Regions from separate parts of the Homo sapiens genome. Here region 2 is linked to region 1. Evidence: promoter capture Hi-C in human tissues and cell types (Jung and others, 2019). All regions are on one chromosome and are shown on one strand. Each heading gives the region's core, a stretch centred on a gene start or on the middle of the fragment in contact. The rest is flanking DNA. Distances are from core to core; before and after follow the strand shown.

What was found. Contacts are between HindIII fragments. The study calls those that stand out against the background at their distance.
Region 2: a fragment that was not itself captured here is called in contact with the fragment with the promoter of DNAJC10 in region 1 in 2 of the 25 tissues and cell types used here (dorsolateral prefrontal cortex and mesenchymal stem cells).

The regions. Positions count from the first base shown.
Region 1 is chr2:182,713,875-182,720,891 of GRCh38, reverse strand. It overlaps DNAJC10 (DnaJ heat shock protein family (Hsp40) member C10), which reads right to left and starts at 4,635. Exons shown (of 24, transcript NM_018981.4): 1 at 4,409-4,635; 2 at 3,820-3,876; 3 at 2,602-2,951; 4 at 723-885. The coding sequence starts at 2,805. It overlaps LOC101929976 (a long non-coding RNA gene), which reads left to right and starts at 6,282. Exons shown (of 7, transcript XR_427200.3): 1 at 6,282-6,731. It also overlaps a transcript of PDE1A not described here. RefSeq lists a silencer at 4,243-4,402 and enhancers at 3,964-4,568, 4,913-4,982, 5,003-5,152. The HindIII fragment of the contact is 2,921 bases long and covers 3,363-6,283 here.
Region 2 is chr2:182,195,579-182,202,507 of GRCh38, reverse strand. PDE1A (phosphodiesterase 1A) reads left to right here. Exons shown (of 15, transcript NM_001363871.4): 9 at 719-820; 10 at 949-1,069. Among named protein-coding and RNA genes, the nearest start is that of PPP1R1C, 210 kb to the right of the region's middle. The HindIII fragment of the contact is 3,719 bases long and covers 1-3,574 here.

The DNA of each region.
Region 1 (7,017 bases), core at 3,386-5,885:
TTCCATATGAGAAGGACGGCATTTCTATTGAAGAGATCATTACTAAACTTGAAGTTTCGCCTTTCTTGGACAATATGATGCTCTAAAATATATTGAAAGAAATTAATATTATTCAATACTAAAAAATACTGAAAGAAATATTTAGCTACCCCTAATGCAAACATATAGTCATACATCACTTACTAATGGGACACATTCTGAGAAATGTGTTGTTAGGGAATTTTGTTGTTGCAAAAACATCACAGAGTGTACTTACACAAACCTAGATAGTATAGCTTACTACACACCTAGTCTACAAATCTGTACAGCATGTTACTGCTGAATACCATAGGCAACTGTAACACAATGCTAAGTATCTTTGTATTTAAATATAGAAAAGGTACAGTAAAAATATGGTATTATAATTTCATGGGACCAATGTCCTACATACAATCCATTGTTAAGTGAAATGTCATTATGCAGTCCATGAATGCATATTTTTTATTAAATAGCAATCCTTATTTTAAAAGTATTTAACAAGATTTAACCAATACAACTTCATATCTGTACAGATCATCTCTGTATACCAACTGACATTCCTTTTAAATTTCACTCCCACAGCAAATTAAAAGGAGCTAATCAAAGTGACGCATCTTAAATATATAAGCTAAGTGGTGAAACAGAATTCACTTTTCTTTTACTCAGATAAAACACATTTCATAAGTAATATCGTATCACCTTACCAAAATCATAACGATAATAGTTCCAGCTTTCATACTGGCCACCTTGATTATCCTCAAGTCCCTTTTCTCCATATTTGTCATACTTTTTCCGTAGATCTTCATCTTTGAGTACTTCATATGCTCTATTTATTTTTAAAAAATCGCCATGTGCATTTGGGTTATTCTGTTAAAAAATATTAGATATAATACAATTATTTCAGATACACAATCCAAGTTTCTTCAAAACATATATGTAGGTTTAATTAATCTAGTAACTTCTGGGAGACCATATACCAACATAAGGAGGGGTAATACAACATGACATGAGTTACCATGGGTTGAAATGAAGTATTTTTTAAGAAACTATAATCTTCAAAAAAAAAAAAAAAAAAGTAAGAAAAGTAATGAAATAATTGACTCTTCAAAAGGTTGACAGACGTTATCAGACCATGAGTTATTCTTCCTAAAAAATGCAGCTGAAAATAATAAGCCTGTTGAAACTCTTAATTTCATAAATATTTTTTACTCCTATAACAATTATAAATCAATACATTTGTAGGTTATTTTTCTATTTGAGGTAAAATCAACTTAATTAAAAAAGGATGTGCCCCAATCTATCAGCTAATTACATAAAAGCCAGTATCAGAAAACACCCCAAAATCGATCCCAGTACTTTGGGAGACTGAGGAGGGTGGATCATTTGAGGTCAGGAGATCGAGACCAGCCTGGCCAACATGGTGAAGCCCCGTTTCTACTAAAAACACAAAAACTAGCTGGGCAGTAGTGACGCACGCCTGTAATCCCAGCTACTCAGGAGGGTGAGGCAGGGGAATTGCTTAAGCCTGTGATGCAGAAGTTGCAGGAAGCCGCTGGCGTCACTGCACTCCAGTCTGGGCAAGAGAGTGAGACCCTATCTCAAAAAAAAAAAAAAAAAAAAAAAGAAAACAATCCAAAATTGGATCGGAAATGTTTCTTCCTTGTTACTGTGCTTCATAAAATTTGTTTCTGAAGGATGCTTTCATTTAAATAATACTCGGATGGTAGAAGGTCTACTGTCTTTTATATGGAAACTTAAAAATCATTATTTGAAATTTTAAAGAAAAATTAAAAAAAAATAAAAACCTTAAATAGAATGTGGATCTTAGGAAAAGATAATCAACTAAACAATATTTAAAGAAATATTGTTTCTCTTGCTCAGCTTTATGCAATGAAAATAATCCTATTTTAAAACTTCTACCTAGAAAAGAGAAAATTATAACTATGTCTTCTTGTTAATGATGAACGCTAAATCTCACTAAGAAATAATCAAATAAATTACAAAAACACCATAAAAATTAAAATGAGTTTAGTTTTGAAAGATTTACATTAATGTGTACATAAATATTTATGACTGGCATTATATTCAGCTGCTGTGAAGTATTAATTTATAAAACTTTCTAACTCTGGTTTGTGGACTTGTGCATACACAGAAGAAAACAGTCAAAGTTAAAACATGCTATTATTAGCTATTACTTCTATTTTTAGCAAGTCATACCCTCTGAGTTTTAAAAAAATATTTTTGTTCCTGTTCTAAAACACTTGATCTTAACCTACTTTAATAAGAAAACTACTTCAACTACTTCACGGATATTATCGTTTGTTTTGGGGTTAATGTCTTTAATAGAATTGTTGGAAAATCGTCTACAAATTAAGAGGGAACTGAATTTTTGGTACTGACATTCCTTCACGGGATCCTAAATAATCCAGAACATTTTGGTGCTTTTGTTTCTAGCATACAAGTTGAATTATAATTTTGACATATGATTATTCTTAAGCATTTGATCATTTAAAGCAATTTAAATAAATATCAAAATGTACCAAAAATATAATCAAATATTTTTAAAAACAAACGTTTACCTACCGGGTTTTTATCAGGATGTAACTTCAATGCCAATTTCTTGAAAGCTTGTCTTATTTCTCTACTGCTTGCAGTTTTGGACACTCCAAGTAAACTGTAAAAATCCTGATCTGTGCCCACTAAAATGGCCATATACACTATCAGAAAACAGAGAATGATCCTTTTCAAGTCTCTGATATAGTCATCTTTATTTAACCAGACTCCCATTCTCTTTCTTATGCAAGTTCTGATTTAAGTGAACATTAAGATTCACTGCTGGTTCCAGTTGATGTAATATGCAAATTTGAGAACTTCTGTCTACATTACTTCAAGGGTGAATCAAGCATCACAAATCTGTCCCCAAAAATATTAATCTAAGAAAGAAAAGCAGGCAGTTAAAATACATTTTGAACTAAACAATAATAGCACAATTTATTTATCACAGAACATGGTCAGCAATACAATCTCCATTAAATGGCAAATCAGTGTGAATGCCCCAGGTTCTATTTTTCACTCTTTCTACATCCATGTAGCTAGATTTGTGAAATCACTGAAGATAGCAGAAAAAAGGTCATGAGTGGTAGTAAGTAGCTTGCACACACACCCTCAGCAATTTATACACTGAGAAAAGACCTCTGACGAGCATCAGAACACAAAGGTGGCAATGAGCTACAGGTGCTTCCTCTTTCTACCCAGTTATAGCGTTGCCTGTAATACCTCTTCCTTTTAGCTACTTCTTTACCTCCTAAAGCTGTCTAATTTTCATTTTCAGCAGAATTCACTTGTAGGAAATGTCCTTGGGAGGGACTAGAAGGAAACATAGGGTTTTTTACTTCTCATATAACCCTACCAGAAATGACAGTGAAATATATTGTTATAATAGACAATCTACACAGCAGTCGATCTTCTTCCCGGAGTTTCCTCAGAAGGTGCTTATACTGAATTTAAGTAGAGGCCATTTTTTAAAAATAGTAGAAAAACAATTGTAAGTTACCAGTGTAATTTTATTGCAAAGTTCATGTTTGGTGTAAGTAGAAACAAAACACAAAAAGAGAAGGGAATCGGTTATTTAGACATACTCTCTGCAGGGCAAAAACAATCATTACTTCATCATATCACATTTCAACCACTATATTTTAGTTCCAAAGAGATCGTAATGCTTTGAAAAATCTAACGCTCCTCGCACCTCATTTCTGTTTTTCATTTAATCCTAAATGTATATTTAAAAATTTTTCTCTTTACCTGTGAATGGTCTTCAGCTCATTTCTAATACTTCCTTTTCATTCCACAAAAATATACCTTTGAAAAATATAATGATGTAGAGATTAACAAGTATCCAAACAAGAAAACAACCATCAGAAAAAGAGAGGGCATAGTCTCAATCAACACTTTGGGATAAGATGTTTCTCGCCCAGGGGTTGTTCTCAGCGTGGGTGTGGCCGAACTGCCCGTGGCCCGAGCTACCGGGCAGGTGGAAGCGCCAGGTAAATGCAAGGCGCAAGCTTTCGCATTGCCATCACTGCAGAGTGGGAGAGGGGAGAGGGGTAAAGATGAAGACACGGGGGAACAGGGCTGTTAAGTGTTGCTGGTGTCTGAAGTCTCAGGTCGGACTTAGGGAGAAAGTGTAAGTAACTGAGAGGGAATCGCTGGGCAGAGGAAGGGTGGTGTGAATAACAGGGAGGAGGAAGGTGGGGAGCGAGAACACAATATCCAGGTCTTAAGAGCGCACAGGAAGGGAGGTTCAGGCGCTCAGCCATTCCGCCCCTCCCTGACCGGAGGGCCCAGGCCACCACCGGCTCCAGCAAAGCCCTAGCCCCGGGCCCATGCCCACCTTGCCATCGCGGGGTCGCTTCCTGTAGCTACTCCCCCATCCTCAAACCCTGGCGGCGGACCCCGCCTGGCCGAGCCCAAGCACCGCGTGCAGGAGAGAAGCACACGCACTCTCCGACGGCCCAGCCGCGGCGCACGGGATTGGTGAGGTGCAGCCACACCGGCGACTACCAGCGCGCGGCCGGTACCGGTAGGTTCCTCACGCGCCGGTCTCCACGGCGAGCCGGGGCGGGGCCTGGCGCGGAGCATTGTGGGAAAGGCGTGGAGGACGCTGCCTGGGGAGACCCGCTGCGGGCCCAGCGGGCGCTGCGGCGGTGGGGTGGAGAGGGCGGTGTAGGTTTAGGTTGACGTGGCGGTGTGCGCGGGATCCGGCTCCGGCTCCGGCTCCAACCCGGAGCTGAGGGAACTGCCCTGGCCAAGCAGCCCGCGCCCCCTCACCAATGCGGCCGGCGCCTGCCGCGGGCGGGGAGGGTGGATGGCGAAGCCCGCCTCTTCCTGCTTCCGTTGCCAGGGTGACGGGGAAACCCAGAGGGTGGGTTTTGGGGTTGAGTTCCCTGAGAGTCTTTTAAAGGGAAGACGGAGCTTTGGAGGATTTGTCTGGGTGATGGGTGGGTGAGACCGAAAGGCGAAATTTGGCGGAGAAAGGAGAAGTTGCCTGAAGCGACACTGATTGCAGTATCAGGCTAGCGGACTGAAGAGGCAGTAGGAAACTTGAAGGAAATTAAAACATTTACAATTTTGTGTAAGCGTGTGTATCAACAAGCATTTGAGACTTCTACAATATTTTCTGGATTCTGAGTCATACAAGCTAGAAACTGGGGAGTTATCGTTGTTCTCTCTTACCTTGATCTCCTACTGCTATGGTACAGGAACTGCATTTTGTCCCACAGCAATATAACAATTGAAGTGGTTATATTTACTACATTTTCTATATTTAAAAGAGAAAACCGAGCCTAGAGGATACCTGCTTATAACATCAACCCTAACATGAAATAAGTTGTGATTGGTAACAGTTTCGGGGAGTAAATCAAGTGTCAGCTTCTAAAAACTTGGAAAACTACACAGGATCTATGGCTAAGCTAATACTTGGTAGGAAAGAAGAGGAAGTAGAATGAACAAAGGCAAACATTAGAAGCAGCCTGATGTAATAGTAGTTAATATGTCTCAGGAACTGGTCTAAGCACACATGTAGTAACTCATTTAGTCCTCCAAATAATCTTACAAGATAGTGGCTCCTATATCTATTTCCCATTTGAGGAAACTGAGGCAAATATTTGAGAGCTAGGATTCACATCTAAGCAACCTGGCTTCAGAGACTATGATGTTAAGCATTATGACACAGTGTGTAACCATTTTGTTACACACTGTAACAAAATCTTAAAGTAAATTGAAAAACAAACAGAAAACTGGAAGATGAAGCAGGGACCAGATCACAGACAGGTTTTTATACCAAGATGAAGACATAGATTTCTATCTCTTAGGTGATGAGGAAGCTTTTAAAAAAGAGACTGAGATTGTATTTTAGATCATCCTGGCAGCTATTGGAGAGAGGATGCAAAGCATACAAAACTGGAGAAAGAACAGGAGAATGTTAGACAAATAGGGTAAATGCTTTAAGAGGTGGTGGGCCGGGTGTGGTGGCTCACGCTTGTAATCGCAGAACTTTGAGGGGCTGAGGCGGGTGGATCACTTGAGGTCAAGAGGTCGAGACCAGCCTGGCCAACGTGGTGAAATCCCATCTCTACTAAAAATACAAAAATAAGCCGGGCATGGTGGCACACCCCTATAATCCCAGCTACTCGGGAGTCAAGAGAATCGCTTGAACCCGGGAGACAGAGGTTGCAGTGAGCCAAGATCACACCACTGCACACCAGCCTGGGTACAGAGCAAGACTCTGTCTTGGGGGAAAAAAAAAAGTAAGAGATGGTGATTGGTTGGATATGGGAGATAAAGGAAAGATTTAAGTTTAACTTCTGACTTCTTATGGCTGAATACTACCCACTGAATGAAGATCTGTTTAGGGAAAAGATAAAGGGTTCTGACTTGGACATATCTAGTTCAAGGTTCCTAGATCATATCTTAGTGAATATACCCTGCATAAAACTCATGGGTAATGTCTAGATTGGAGAAAAAATAGGAGAAAAATCATCAGATCACCCAAAGAAAGTGTGCAGAATAAGTAAAGTTGTGGACCAAGGATTAAAACCTTGGGGAATTCTAACATCAAGAATGAAAGCACACACGGAAAAAGAATCTAAGCTTCATGAAGGTGGATTTTTGTTCATTTTATTTACTGTTATGGCTCCAGCTGTTCTTACTATATGGTAGGTACTACATAAATATTTTTTGAATGAATAAACATTAATTTGAGAAATAGGCTGAAGAAGAAGAACCCATACAGGATGTAAAAAAGAGATGATCAGAGATGGGCAAAAGGAACTAAACATCAAGGAAGTTAGAGTGAGTCAGATAAGATACTGACTGCAACTTGTTAATTAGGTCTGGCAATTAGGAGGTTATAGGGACCTTAGTAAGCACAATTTTGGTGGATGGTAAGGCTGGAAGTTAGATTGTAGTAGACTAAAGATTGGCTAGGAGCTGAGGAAATGG
Region 2 (6,929 bases), core at 466-2,965, 520 kb after region 1:
GAAATATTAATGCTCCCTCAGGATTGTTAGGAGGATTAAATGTCTTTGTATACATACAAAGCAACTAGTTGCTAAAGTATTTTATTATCGGTATTATATGAAGACATTTAATCCTTACAGTTCAGTGCCTTGCTGAATAAATACTGAATGAATAGCACTGGTTTTATTAATAGTAGTCGTTTTGATTAAAAATGCAAAATGAAGAAGAATCAGATAGGGTCTTGAAATCTCATGCTCTTCTTATCTCTGTCTCTTCTCTGAGACATCAAACCTTTTAGTTTGGTTGACATGTGGATTTAGAATAGTCTCAGGCCCCACTGGACTACTTTTTTTCCTCAAAGCATTGAAATACTATATAATACTGTATTTGGAATAGTTTTTCTTTAAAATGGCTAAAGTTCCTTTCAGATTAAAAATAATAATATTTAGGAATTATGACTGCAGAAGAGTTGTGGGAGTGAGAAGGGAAAGCACTAGCTCTTCAGGGAGGTGTGAACATCGTTGCCATTCTCGCTGCTGGCAACTTCTTAGATCCATGACAGTTAAAAGGTAAAATAATATCAAACTTGTGTGTGGACTTTCACATTTAAAAAGTAGCATCTTTTGTGTTCATATCCATTAAGAACTATAAAACATGGTGAGTGATTATTTATTGAAGTGTTCCACTTCAGAACAATAAATGGCTGAATGAACCTTTCTCCTTTTGGTGACTCTGCAGGGATCTTCGGAACCTAGTGATTGAAATGGTTTTATCTACAGACATGTCAGGTCACTTCCAGCAAATTAAAAATATAAGAAACAGTTTGCAGCAGCCTGAAGGGTAGGTTTTGTGTTTTTTTTGTTGTTTTTTTTTTTTTGTCATGTTAAAGTTCCAGGGGCTTGGCCTCAGAAAAGACTGTAATTGTTTCCTTTGTTTTGAATAATATAAGCATGTCCTTGGTTTGACAGGATTGACAGAGCCAAAACCATGTCCCTGATTCTCCACGCAGCAGACATCAGCCACCCAGCCAAATCCTGGAAGCTGCATTATCGGTGGACCATGGCCCTAATGGAGGAGTTTTTCCTGCAGGTGCCTCTTTCACACTCTGTGCAAATGTTTTTGGAAATAGTGACTGTGCATATTAGCGTACACCTTTTCTGTATGGAATCCAGGGCTTGTGACTTACTATTATCAACTGGCCACCTACACATTCTTGGGGGTTTCAGCAAAATTTATTAGTCTATCAGAAAGGTGTATTAAGTCTATGTAGTGTGATACATGTTTTAAAGAGATTCAAATTTTGGATCTGAGATGCTACTGTCAGGAAAGAAAAATAAAAGCAGCTAAGAATTGTTATCTGCTGTTAAGACGTAAGTGCCACAGCAGAGACAGCAAATAGCTTTCATAATAGAAAGAGTAGATAAGGATATATAACAGTTCTGCATAAATCTTGTTGGCCAGAATTTTAATGGAGGCCAAGAAATATTGCTTTAGCTGGGTGGACACATGCCTAACTGAAATAGGCAACAACAACAACAACAAAAATCTAATGTTACGTCAGAAACAAGCCCGGATAAGGATTGTGACTGGCGTTCTCTGCCACAAGTACACATCTTTTCTTTATACATGTCCCTGTTTTGCAACCCCCACAATCCAAGCTGGAGTGCTACAATACAAATGTGATGCTAACCACTCAGAGTTAGCATCAAATTGCACAAATTAAGGGCTCAGTCTTCCACAAGATTGGCTCTACTTCAGATGCCAGCTGCAAATGGGGCTGTGGGACACCAGCACTTCTGACCAGCCAGTTACAAGTTCAGTGGTTCCCACAACCCTCTCTAGGTTTGATAACTTGCTAGAATGACTCACAAAACTTCAAAAGTGCTATCCTTACAATTACAATTTTATTATAAAGAATACAATCCAGGCAGAGCCAAATGAAAAGGCCCATAAGGAAAGGTCTGGGAGGGTCTTGGATGCAGAGCTTCCTTGCTATTTCCAGTGGAGTTAGCGAGTACCACCATCCTGCCTTGTCAATGTTTTCACCATCCAGGAAGCTCTACTGAGCTTTCCTGTCCAGAGTATTTATCAAGGTTTCATTACATAGGCATGGTTGATTAAACCATTGGACATGCGATTGAACTCAGTCTCCAGCCTCACTTCCTTCCCAGATATCCCCTGGCTGGCTTAAAGTTCCAACTTTCTAATCATGTGGTTGGTTTCTGGTGACCAGGCCCTATGCTGAAACTATCTAGGGGATAGGCCCAGAGTTGCCTCATTAGCCTAGAGTCTCCTATCACTCATGAAATTCCACAGGTTTTTGAAGCTCTGCTAGGAACTGGGAATGAATATCAGATAATTTTGTTTTATTATATCACAGTCCCACTTAGAGAAGTTCTTTTATTTCTGTATTTTCAGATTATTTCATTTCTCAGTATTGTTCTTTATTTTGAAAGTTTGTTCATTAATTTTATACCTGTTCTGAAGATATAAACACCAAATATATTACTATGTTTGGATGACTCACGTTTCTGTCTCCCATTGTTGATGGACATAATGTGTGGTATTTTGAAAGTTTGTTCATTAATTTTATACCTGTTCTGAAGATATAAACACCAAATATATTACTATGTTTGGATGACTCACGTTTCTGTCTCCCATTGTTGATGGACATAATGTGTGGTTTCATTTTTATATTGCAATTTATATTCCTAGAGAAAGTTACTGAGTAGCATCTTACTAAATTCAAATATTTTGGTCCTAAAAATAGTATTGAAAAATATTTTAATAATTTGCTTTGTGCTAAAAAAATACACTAAATGTAAAAACCTACCAAATTCTAAAGGTCAACTGCTTATTATGGTCAATTAAAAATTATAATGATATACTCAATCAATCAACCAGAGATCTTTCTGTATAGCCCTGTGACATTAGAGATGCAAAAACAGAAAAATAAAGAGATACAAAGATTTTTCAGGTTAAGAAGAAATTTTTAAATATCTTAAGTTGAATGATTTTGAAAACATAATATTTGAAAATTGTTGGATGCAACTGAAGCAGTGCTTAGGGGAAATTTTATAGCTTCACATACTTACATTAGAAAAAAAATGTGTAATAAAGTAAGTTATATCTGTTTCACCTTAAGAAGCTAGAAATTAAGAAAATTGAATCAAAATAAGTTGATGGAAGGATATAATAAATATAAAAGCCAAAAACAGTGAAACAGAACAAAGACAAACAATAACAAAAGTTAATGAAGATAACAGTTGGCTCTCCGAAAAAGTAATGAAATTACTTGCAGGATCAAAAAGAGGAAAAAACTATAAATGAAAGAGAGAATATCATTATAGAGCCTGTATTCATCAAAAGGGTGAGGAATATTATGCACAATTTATGCCAATAAAATTGAAAACTTAGATGAAATTGTCAAAATTTTTGACAGATATAAATTACCAAAACAGACACAAGAAAAAATCATGTAGTCTGAATATTCATATATCTGTTTCAAAAGTTGAATTTGTACTTTAACTCTTCTTATGAAGAAAACTCTAGGCTTAGATGACTTTAATTCTTATTTCCGATTTCAATTCTCAATATTCAATTCAATTGAGAGATGGAGAATTTTCTCAAACATTTCAGGAAGAAATAATGCCAGTTTTACACAAATTCTTTTATGACATAGAGGAAGAGGAAAATTTGACAGCATAATTCTCGACATTACCTGACAAAGACTTTTCAAGTAAAGAAAATTACACATCCACATCTGCCATAAAACTGAAAGAGAAATTTTTTTTTAATTTTTAAAATTTTTAGCAAATCAAATCCAGCAATTTAGTAAGATAGTGCATATCATATCATAACTTGAGTCAGTTTAATATTAAAAAATTAAGGTAATTCACCATATTAAAGGAAATAAAGGAAAAAATATATTAATTATCAACCCTATAGATATGCAAAATGCATTTGACAATATTCGACAGACATTAATTATAAAAACTGTTAGTAAACTAGAAGTAGAAGACCTTTCTCAACCTGATCAAAGGTCTATAGCGAATGTGATACTTCACAATGAAATACTGAACATTTTTATTCTAAGATCATTATAGGTACTCTTACCACTTCTATTCAACATTGCATTTGAAGTTCTAGCCAGTGTAGGAAGGTAATAAAAAACAAAGTATAGTTTGAATAAAAATAAATAAAACTGTTATTTGCAGAAACATGAGCATCTGCATAGAAAACCTCAAGAGATCTACAAAAGGCTACTTACTAGAATTAATAAATGAGTTTATTAGTTGTAGAATCAATTGTGTTTCTGTATGCAAGCTGCAAACAATTTGAAAATAAAAATTGAAAACAGTATGCTTTATAACAGCATAAAATAATAAAATTTTGGGGGAAACCTTTAATTAAATGTATATGAAACCTCCACACTGCAAACCACAAAACATTTTTGAGAGAAATTTTAAGACCTATATAAATGGAGAGATATGTTAATGACTGAAAGACTCAATATTTCTAAGATGTCAATTCTTACAAATTTTTAATAAATTTAGCATAATCTTTATCAGAAATTGTAACAGGCTTATTTGTAGAAGTTGAAAGGCTGATTCTAAAATCTGTATAGAAATATAAGAGTCTAAGGCAGCTAAAACAATTTTGAAAAAGATTAAAGAAGTTGGAGGACTTACACTTCCTCCTTATGTGAGTTAGTATAAAGCTACAGTGATCAAGGCACTGTGTTATTGGCATAGGGCATAGGGCTAGGCAAATAGATCATTAAAATAGAGGAGTGATTTCAGAAACAGGCTCATATATATAATGTCATGTGATCTTTACAAAGGCACCAAAACAACTACATGGGGAAAGGAAAGTCTTTCCACAAAAGGAAATGGAACAGCAATTAGTGAATGTATGGGAAGAAAAGGAAACTTGTCCCCTACCTACACCTTAACACAAAAACTAATTCAAAATTAAGGAGTTTAAGACAAAACCTAAAACTATAAAGATCTTAGAGGAAAACGCAAGAGAAGATCTCTCTAATCTCGGGGGTAGGTAAATATTTCTTAGAGAAGACACATAAAGCATTACCCATAAAAGAAAAAAAAAATGAAGTGGAAAAAAGCAAAACTCAAAACTTCTGATCTTCCAAAGGCACTACTAAGAAAATGCAAACCATAGACTGAGAGAAAATATTTGTACTACAAATATCTGTCCAAGGACTTGTGTCCAATTGCATATAGAACTCCAACAAATCAATAGTAAAAAGAAAATCAGGCCAATTTGAATGGATATTTTATAAAAGGAAATGTACAAGTAGGTAATACTTACATACAAGTATGTTCATTTTCTTTACTTATCAAAGAATTATAAATTAAACCATAATGAAATATCATATAGCCCCATGAGAATGACTAAAATTAAAATAATTGAAAATATAAGGTGTTACCAAAAATGAGGAACAACTGGAGGTATCATACATACATCACAGGTGGGAGGATAAATTATTACAATCACTCTGGAAAACTACTGGATATCATCTACTGAAGTTAATATGAAGGGATAGTTAATATCCCTTAGGACCCAGCACTTTTACCCCTAGATAAATGAGTATTTATGCCCACCAAATGTCTTATATAGGAGTAGTCATTATACTACTACTTAAAAAAACTCAATGCTAGAAACAGTCCAAATATTCATCAAAAATAGAAATGGATAAAAAATAAATCATGGTACAGTCATACAATGGAATATCCAGCAACAATGAAAAATAGACTAATGATACAAATGACAATAAATCTCAAAATAATACTATAAACCAATTTATATGAAGTTCAAAAATTGGCAAAATTAATATATGGTGATAGAAATCAGAACAGTAGGTGCCTATATGGGTTAGGATTCCTTGGACGAGGTTAAGGCAACTTTCTGGGGGTAATGGAAATGCTCTATATCTTAATCAAGTATTATACAAGTGTTCCTGTTTATACCCTTCAGATTTGCCCATAAATTTCCCTTTAATTTTTTTTAAAAAGAGTATATCATAATGAAGGTAGCTCATCTCTGACTTAAAGAAGACCCTAAAAAAATTACTGTGGGAAAAAACAAAACTAAAATCCCAGAGACTCCTGAAGATTACCATTAGATCTCCAAATAATATCACGATTTGTATTATCCTTTTGTTTTACTGATTTCAAAACAGACAAAGAATACCTGACAGGATCATGAGATTAGTAAATTCAATGAAATTGAGTTCAGATCTGTTGAAAGTTCACCAATTTCTGGATTTTTAAAAGTAAACGATTTTCAAATCCCCTTCAGAAACATATGCAGCAAAACAGAAAAATGTGGAGCTAAAGGTCAAAATAATTAAGTTTATACTGCCAACAAATATGTCTTTCAAGCAAAACAAGTTTTTCTTTGTGAAACTTAAACTGAAATATGATATTAATTCCAACAGGTAAAATGTTTTCTTGCATTGAACTAACTAAATAAATCCCATATTACTCTCACTTATTCTTAGTCATACTGCATAATGTACACCTTTGGAGGTAAATAAGCAATGAACCTGAAACTCCTTGCTGTATGCATTTCTCTGATTTGACATAAGATATTGAACTGTGTCTATGTATCTATGCATATGTCCTAGAAATTAGCAGGACTGCAGTGGTTCTTGTATGTTTTATTTTTGTTCATCCTCACATAGCCATCTGTAAAACTGTCACTTTGTCAGACCCACAGTACTGATACCATTCTGCTCTGCATTTAGCCAAGGTGACTGGGTTTTTCATCTCGGACAGTGAAAACAGCACTTTTACAAAGCAATTTGCAAATATATGTCTTCATTCCTTTGGAAGGTACTAAGAAGCTAAATACTGTGTCTTAAATTCCACTGGCTGTGCTAGAGATTTTGAGGTAAATCAAAAGAGGTCTGTCCAGAGCTCATCAT